Linked DNA regions of Homo sapiens: region 1 is linked to region 2. Evidence: promoter capture Hi-C in human tissues and cell types (Jung and others, 2019). All regions are on one chromosome and are shown on one strand. Each heading gives the region's core, a stretch centred on a gene start or on the middle of the fragment in contact. The rest is flanking DNA. Distances are from core to core; before and after follow the strand shown. Region 1 overlaps CINP (cyclin dependent kinase 2 interacting protein). Region 2 holds the start of AMN (amnion associated transmembrane protein).

The links. Contacts are between HindIII fragments. The study calls those that stand out against the background at their distance.
Region 1: a contact is called between a fragment that was not itself captured here and the fragment with the promoter of AMN in region 2, in 2 of the 25 tissues and cell types used here (dorsolateral prefrontal cortex and mesendoderm cells).

Annotation. Positions count from the first base shown.
Region 1 is chr14:102,351,595-102,354,655 of GRCh38, reverse strand. All of the region lies in intron 3 of CINP (cyclin dependent kinase 2 interacting protein), which reads left to right. Among named protein-coding and RNA genes, the nearest start is that of CINP, 9.8 kb to the left of the region's middle. The HindIII fragment of the contact is 9,147 bases long and covers 1-3,061 here.
Region 2 is chr14:102,921,101-102,923,926 of GRCh38, reverse strand. AMN (amnion associated transmembrane protein) reads right to left here and starts at 1,264. Exons shown (of 12, transcript NM_030943.4): 1 at 1,196-1,264; 2 at 98-216. The coding sequence starts at 1,238. RefSeq lists a silencer at 841-1,040. The HindIII fragment of the contact is 38,072 bases long and covers 1-2,826 here.

The DNA of each region.
Region 1 (3,061 bases), core at 482-2,981, 570 kb after region 2:
CCTTCCACATAGCTGGGATCGCAGGTGTGCGCCACCATGCCCAGCTAATTGTTGTATTTTTAGTAGAGATGGGGTTTCACCATGTTGGCCAGGCTGGTCTCGAAGTCCTGGCCTCAAGTGATCCACCCACCTCAGCCTCCCAAAGTGTTGGGATTACAGGCGTGAGCCACCATGTTCGTCCAGGAAATCTTTATCTTTGGACACCGAAATTAGAATTTTGTATAATTTTTATGAGTCACAATCACTATTGTCCTTTTGGTTATTTTCAACCATTTAAAAATGTAAAAACCATCTTAGCTTATGGGCCATACAGAAATAGGCTATGGGCCAGAATTGACCTGTGTTCCAGGGATAGTTTGCCCATCCCTGATACAGCACGTAAGAGACTAAAGTGTTTGTTTAATGAACTAATAACTAAATTTCAATACCTACCATACTGGCCACCAGATGTGAAGATAACACCACCTTATTTCTTTGCTAGGCACAGGAAATCAGGTTTTACACATATTTGAACTTGGATAACTGAAGCTTACCCATAAACATTTAAGATCTTTATATTTTCACCTTTTTGTTTGTTTGGAGACAAGGTCTCGCTGTGGAATGCAGTAGTATGATCACAGCTCACTGCAGCCTTTACTTCCTGGGCTTAAGTGATCTTCTTGCCTCAGCCTCCCGAGTAGCTGGGACTACAAGCATGAACCATCATGCCCGGCTAATTTTTAAAATTCGTTTGTACAGACGGGGTTCTCATGTTGGCCAGGCTGGTCTCGAACTCCTGACATGAAGTGATCTTCCCACCTTGGCCTCCCAAAGTGCTGGGATCACAGGTGTGAGCCCTGGCGCCCTGCCTTAGCTTTTCCGTCATGTCTTGTTTTGGCTTCAGGATCCTGTATGACATCGAGTCCCCTTGTTTCCTCAGGCTCCTTTTGGCCGTGACAGTTTCTCAGACTTCCCTGTTTTTGATGACTTTGACAATGTTGAGGGATACTGGTCAGGTATTTTGTAGAACATCATGAGATTTATCTGATGTTTTTCTCCTAATTAGACTGAGGTTACGGGTTTTGTTCAGAGGAGGACCACAGAAGTAAAGTGCCATTTCTATCATGTCATATCAAGGGCACGTACTGGATATACTGTCATCAGGACTTTTCTTTGGGTCCCACCTATTGCCCGGGCTGGTCTCAAACTCCTGGGCTCAAGCAGTGCTCCCACCTCAGCCTCCCAAAGTGCTGGGATTCCAGGCGTGAGCCACTGTGCACAGCCAGGACTTTCCACTGCTGAAGTTGACCTTGATCACCTGGCTGGGCAGTGTTTCCAGGTTCCTCTGCTGTGACGTTGCTCTTTCTCCTCCTCCCACGCTGTGCTCTTTGGCAGGAAGTCACTATGCATAGCCCACACCTGGGGGTAGGGACGTATTCACCACCTGCTTGAGGGTGCAGTATCTACATAAATTATTTGGAATTATTCTGCGTGGGAGATTTGTTCCCTCCCTCCCATTTGTTAATTTTTTTTTTTTTTGAGATGGAGTTTCACTCTTGTTGCCCAGGCTGGAGTGCAGTGGGGTGATCTCTGCCCACTGCAACCTCTGCCTCCTGGGTTCAAGTGATTCTCCTGTCTCAGCTTCCCAAGTAGCTGGGATTACAGGTGCCTGCCACCACACCCAGCTAATTGTTGTATTTTTATTTGTTTTTTTTTAATTTTTGTTTTGGCCAGGCGCAGTGGCTCATGCCTGTAATCCCAGCACTCTAGGAGGCCGAGGCAGGTGGATCACCTGAGGTCAAGAGTTTGAGACCAGCATGGCCAACATAGTGAAACCCCATCTCTACTAAAAATACAAAAAATTAGCTGGGGGTGGTGGCAGGTGCCTGCAATCCCAGCTACTTGGGAGGCTGAGGCGGGAGAATCACTTTCGGAGGTTGCAGTTAGCCGAGATCAAGCCACTGCACTCCAGTCTGGGCCACAGAGTGAGACTCCGTGTCAAAAAAAAGAAAAAAAGAAAAAGAAAAGTGGTTTGGGAATAAGTTCTCATTCTATGTTCAAAACCAAAAGTTGATTTTATAGGGTATTATTATTTTTCCTATTTTCCTCTATCCGTTATAGAGAATGGTTTCCAGACCTGGTCTGTGTCTTTCATAACTTTGACCTTCTGGGGGTTTCATGCACCGTTCTTCCTAAGCTGGGCTAACATTTCACTGTGGTCTGTGTTTGCTGTGGGAAGAAGCCACCGATGTTGAAATGTAAGGGCCTGCTGTTTATGCACTGTTCATTCAGGGCTGCACGTGCCTATGTGACTTGAATTCTTTATTGATGGCTGAGCTGCAGGATTGAGCATGACTTCTTGCCTGGGGTCAAGGCTCCAGAATTTTCCTTAGTCTCCTGTTATCAGCTTTTCTTAGAATCAGGTGGCACCAGGGAGCTGCTGCAGGACTCACAGGAAAGAGCAGAGGATTGGGTGTTAAAACTTGGTGTCGGCTGGGCGCGGTGGCTCACGCCTGGAATCCCAACACTTTGGGAGGCTGAGGTGGGCGGATCACAAGGTCAGGAGATCGAGACCATCCTGGCTAACACAGTGAAACCCCAGCTCTGCTAAAAGTACCAAAAAAATTAGCCAGGCACAGTGGCGGGCGCCTGTAGTCCCAGCTACTTGGGAGGCTGAGGCAGGAGAATGGCATGAACCCGGGAGGCGGAGGTTGCAGTGAGCGGAGATCGCGCCACTGCACTCCAGCCTGGGTGACAAAGCGAGACTCTGTCTCAAAAAAAACAAAAACAAAAACAAAAACAAAAAAACTTGGTGTCAGAAGGCATGGTATCGAGTTCTGGCCTCATCCTTCCTCAGCTCAACCTTAAGCAATTTCCCAGCTGTGAAACGGAAATGACAAGTCCTGCCTCTTGGGGTTGGGCCAAATAAAATATCAAACCTTAAAAGATTTGGGAAACTACTTAAGTAAAGTCCTTTAAAAATTAACGTTAGCTGAATTTAGTGCTTGCCACTTCCAATGTAATTGGAGGGTGGTTGGAAGGACCAAGTAAAGGAATTAAGATATTTGACAATTTATATATC
Region 2 (2,826 bases), core at 15-2,514:
AGAAGCTGCCTCAGCCGAGCCGGGAGCAACCCCCACCGGGGCCACACGGTCTCAGGGGTCCAGGCCCATCACCGACCCCGCCGGCGCTCCCAGGCACCTTGTCCGCCGGGAACTCAACGGCGCCGCCGGCGCACGGGGTCCGGTTCTGGCTCCAGTTGGCTGCGACGTCGAAGTCCGTGTTGGGGACCCAGAGTTTGGAGACCGCCTGGGTCAGTGCTGGGGAGGAGGCGACTGAGTGCCCGGGATGCTCTCCGGGATGCTCCCTTCTCAGGGAAGGCCACCCACCCAGAGAAGTGCGGAAGGTCCGCGCGGATCACCCGGGACGCATAGGAACCCCATCCCCGGGGGCCCGGACCCAGACCCTGGTCCCTCCCGGCCAGACTGTGGGCGCCCTGCCCGGGCGCTCTCCAACGGACTTCTACTGATACCTGCAGAGCCCGCTCAAACGCGCCCTGCAGGACGCCTGCCTAGATAGCCTCCCGGCACTGCCCCCAGTTTGCCTGGCGCTGGAGCAGAGGACAGCGTTGTTAAGGACAGTGACAACTGGGGCATGGAGGAGGATGGGGCAGCACAGACCTCTTCTCGGCCTTGGAATCAGGAAGGCTTCCCGGAGGAGTCCTACCTGGGCCGGGAAGAGCTGCGACAGAGCGCAACCCGGTATGAGAAGTAAGAAGGGGCTGGGGGCGGCAGGACCAGGTCAGGCCGGCCCTGAATGTGGTGGGTGGGGTTGTCCTGAGGGAGCCGCGAGGGGTTTAGGGAAGGGGGCGCCAGGGACACGCGCCGGCCTGGTGTGAAGGCGGAGGAGGGCTCAGTGCTCCCTTGGGGACCGGGAAGCTGAGGCGGTCTGCCGAGCCCCGCAGGCGCACACTCGCTGCTCTCGGCAGGTTCTGGGGACCGCGCCCATTTCGCAGACGGAAAAACCGCGAGGGCAGGAGCCGCCGGAGGCCGGGGCTGGCCGAGGTTCCCGGAGCCCCTCCTCTCCTCTCCCGCACCGCCCGATGCACTGGCCGCGCACTTCCGGGCTGCGCACTCGCCAGACGAGGGAGGCAGGGCCGAGTTTCACGCCCCCAACCCTCCAAAGCCCTCCCTGCCCACTCCTCGGAAGATCTTCACCCTCCAGGCCTAGAGCGACCTCGGCCCTGGGTCCTGACAGACCGCTACCGTCCGGGCCCGCACCGGTGTGGTCCCGGCTCACCGCAGAGCTGCAGCCACAGCAGGACCCGGCCCAGGACGCCCATCTCGCCTCGGCTCCTTGCACCCCACCAGGAGACTTTGCCCCACTGGACCCACGTGACCAGGCAGGTCGGGTGGGGGCACCAGGGTCGGTTACACATTTACCTCCAGACCCGCCCAGGGCCGACTCTTCAGGCCCCTGGGAGGCACCTTCTCAGCCTCCCCTTACCCGCCCCTGCAGGGCCTGAACACCTTAGGTTCTCAGGAAGAAGGGCAAAGAAGAAGGGCTTGGCGAGACTGACCTACCCTGTAAAATGGGTGTCTTGCCGGGAGGGGGAATAAACGACCTTTGAATTCACCCCTTTCTCTGTCCTGTGTGCTGCTAGGGCTGAGCTAGTCTGCTCACCATTGGAACTGGGTGTCCACTTCTCCACGCAGTGCCCCTGTCCCATGGGCTGTGGGTGGTGGTTGGATGATAGAAGGAAGATCCTGGATGGAACATGGTATGTGGATGGTATAGGAGGGTGGATTGTGGATGATGGTGGAGAGTAGTGGATGGTGAGTAGGGGACAGCTGATGGACAGCAACATTGATGGTGCATGGTGTACGGCATATGGACGCATGGCAGATGAATGGTAAATGGTTGACGGGGTGGATGGTGAGTGATAGAGGGTGGATGGGTGATGAATGGATGGATGAGGATGGTGAGTGAAAAATGAATGAATGGCCGGGCGTGGTGGCTCATGCCTGTAATCCCAGCACTTTGGGAGGGTGAGGCAGGCGGATCGCGAGGTCAGGAGATCAAGACCATCCTGGCTAACGCGGTGAAACCCCGTCTATACTAAAAATATACAAAAAAATTAACCGGGCATGGTAGAAGGCGCCTGTAGTCCCAGCTACTTGGGGGGCTGAGGCAGAACGGCGTGAACCCAGGAGGTGGAGCTTGCAGTGAGCCACGATCGTGCGCTGCACTCCAGCCTGAGCGACAGAGCGAGACTCCGTCTCAAAAAAAAAAAAAAAAAAAGGAAAAGGAATGGATGGTAATCAGGGAGTGGTGGATGGATAATGGCATAAATGGATACATGGCCGACAGGTAGATCATAAAGAGTGGGTGTTGGCGGGGCACGGTGGCTCACGCCTGTAACCGCAGCACTTTGGGAGGCCAAGGCGGGCAGATCACCTGAGGTCGGGAGTTCGAGACCAGCCTGACCAACATGGAGAAACCCCATCTCTACTAAAAATACAAAATTAGATAGGCATGGTGGCACATGCCTGTAATCCCAGCTACTTGGGAGGCTAAGGCAGGAGAATCGTTTGAACCTGGAAGGCGGAGGTTGTGGTGATCGGAGATCACGCCACTGTGCTCCAGCCTGGGCAACAAGAGTGAAACCCCATCTCAAAAAAAAAAAAGTGGGTGTTAAATGGTGGATGTTTGGTGAGTGATGAATGCTGAATGGATGGATGGTGGATGGTGAATAGATAGATGGTAAATGGATAGATGGTGGATGATGGTTGCATAAATGGTGAATTGTGGATGGAGATGGACGGTGGATAGTGAATAGATGGTGGATAGTGAATAGACAGTGGATAGTGGATAATGGGTGGATAGTAGATGGTGGATAGGATGATAAATGGATGGGTAATGGATGGTAG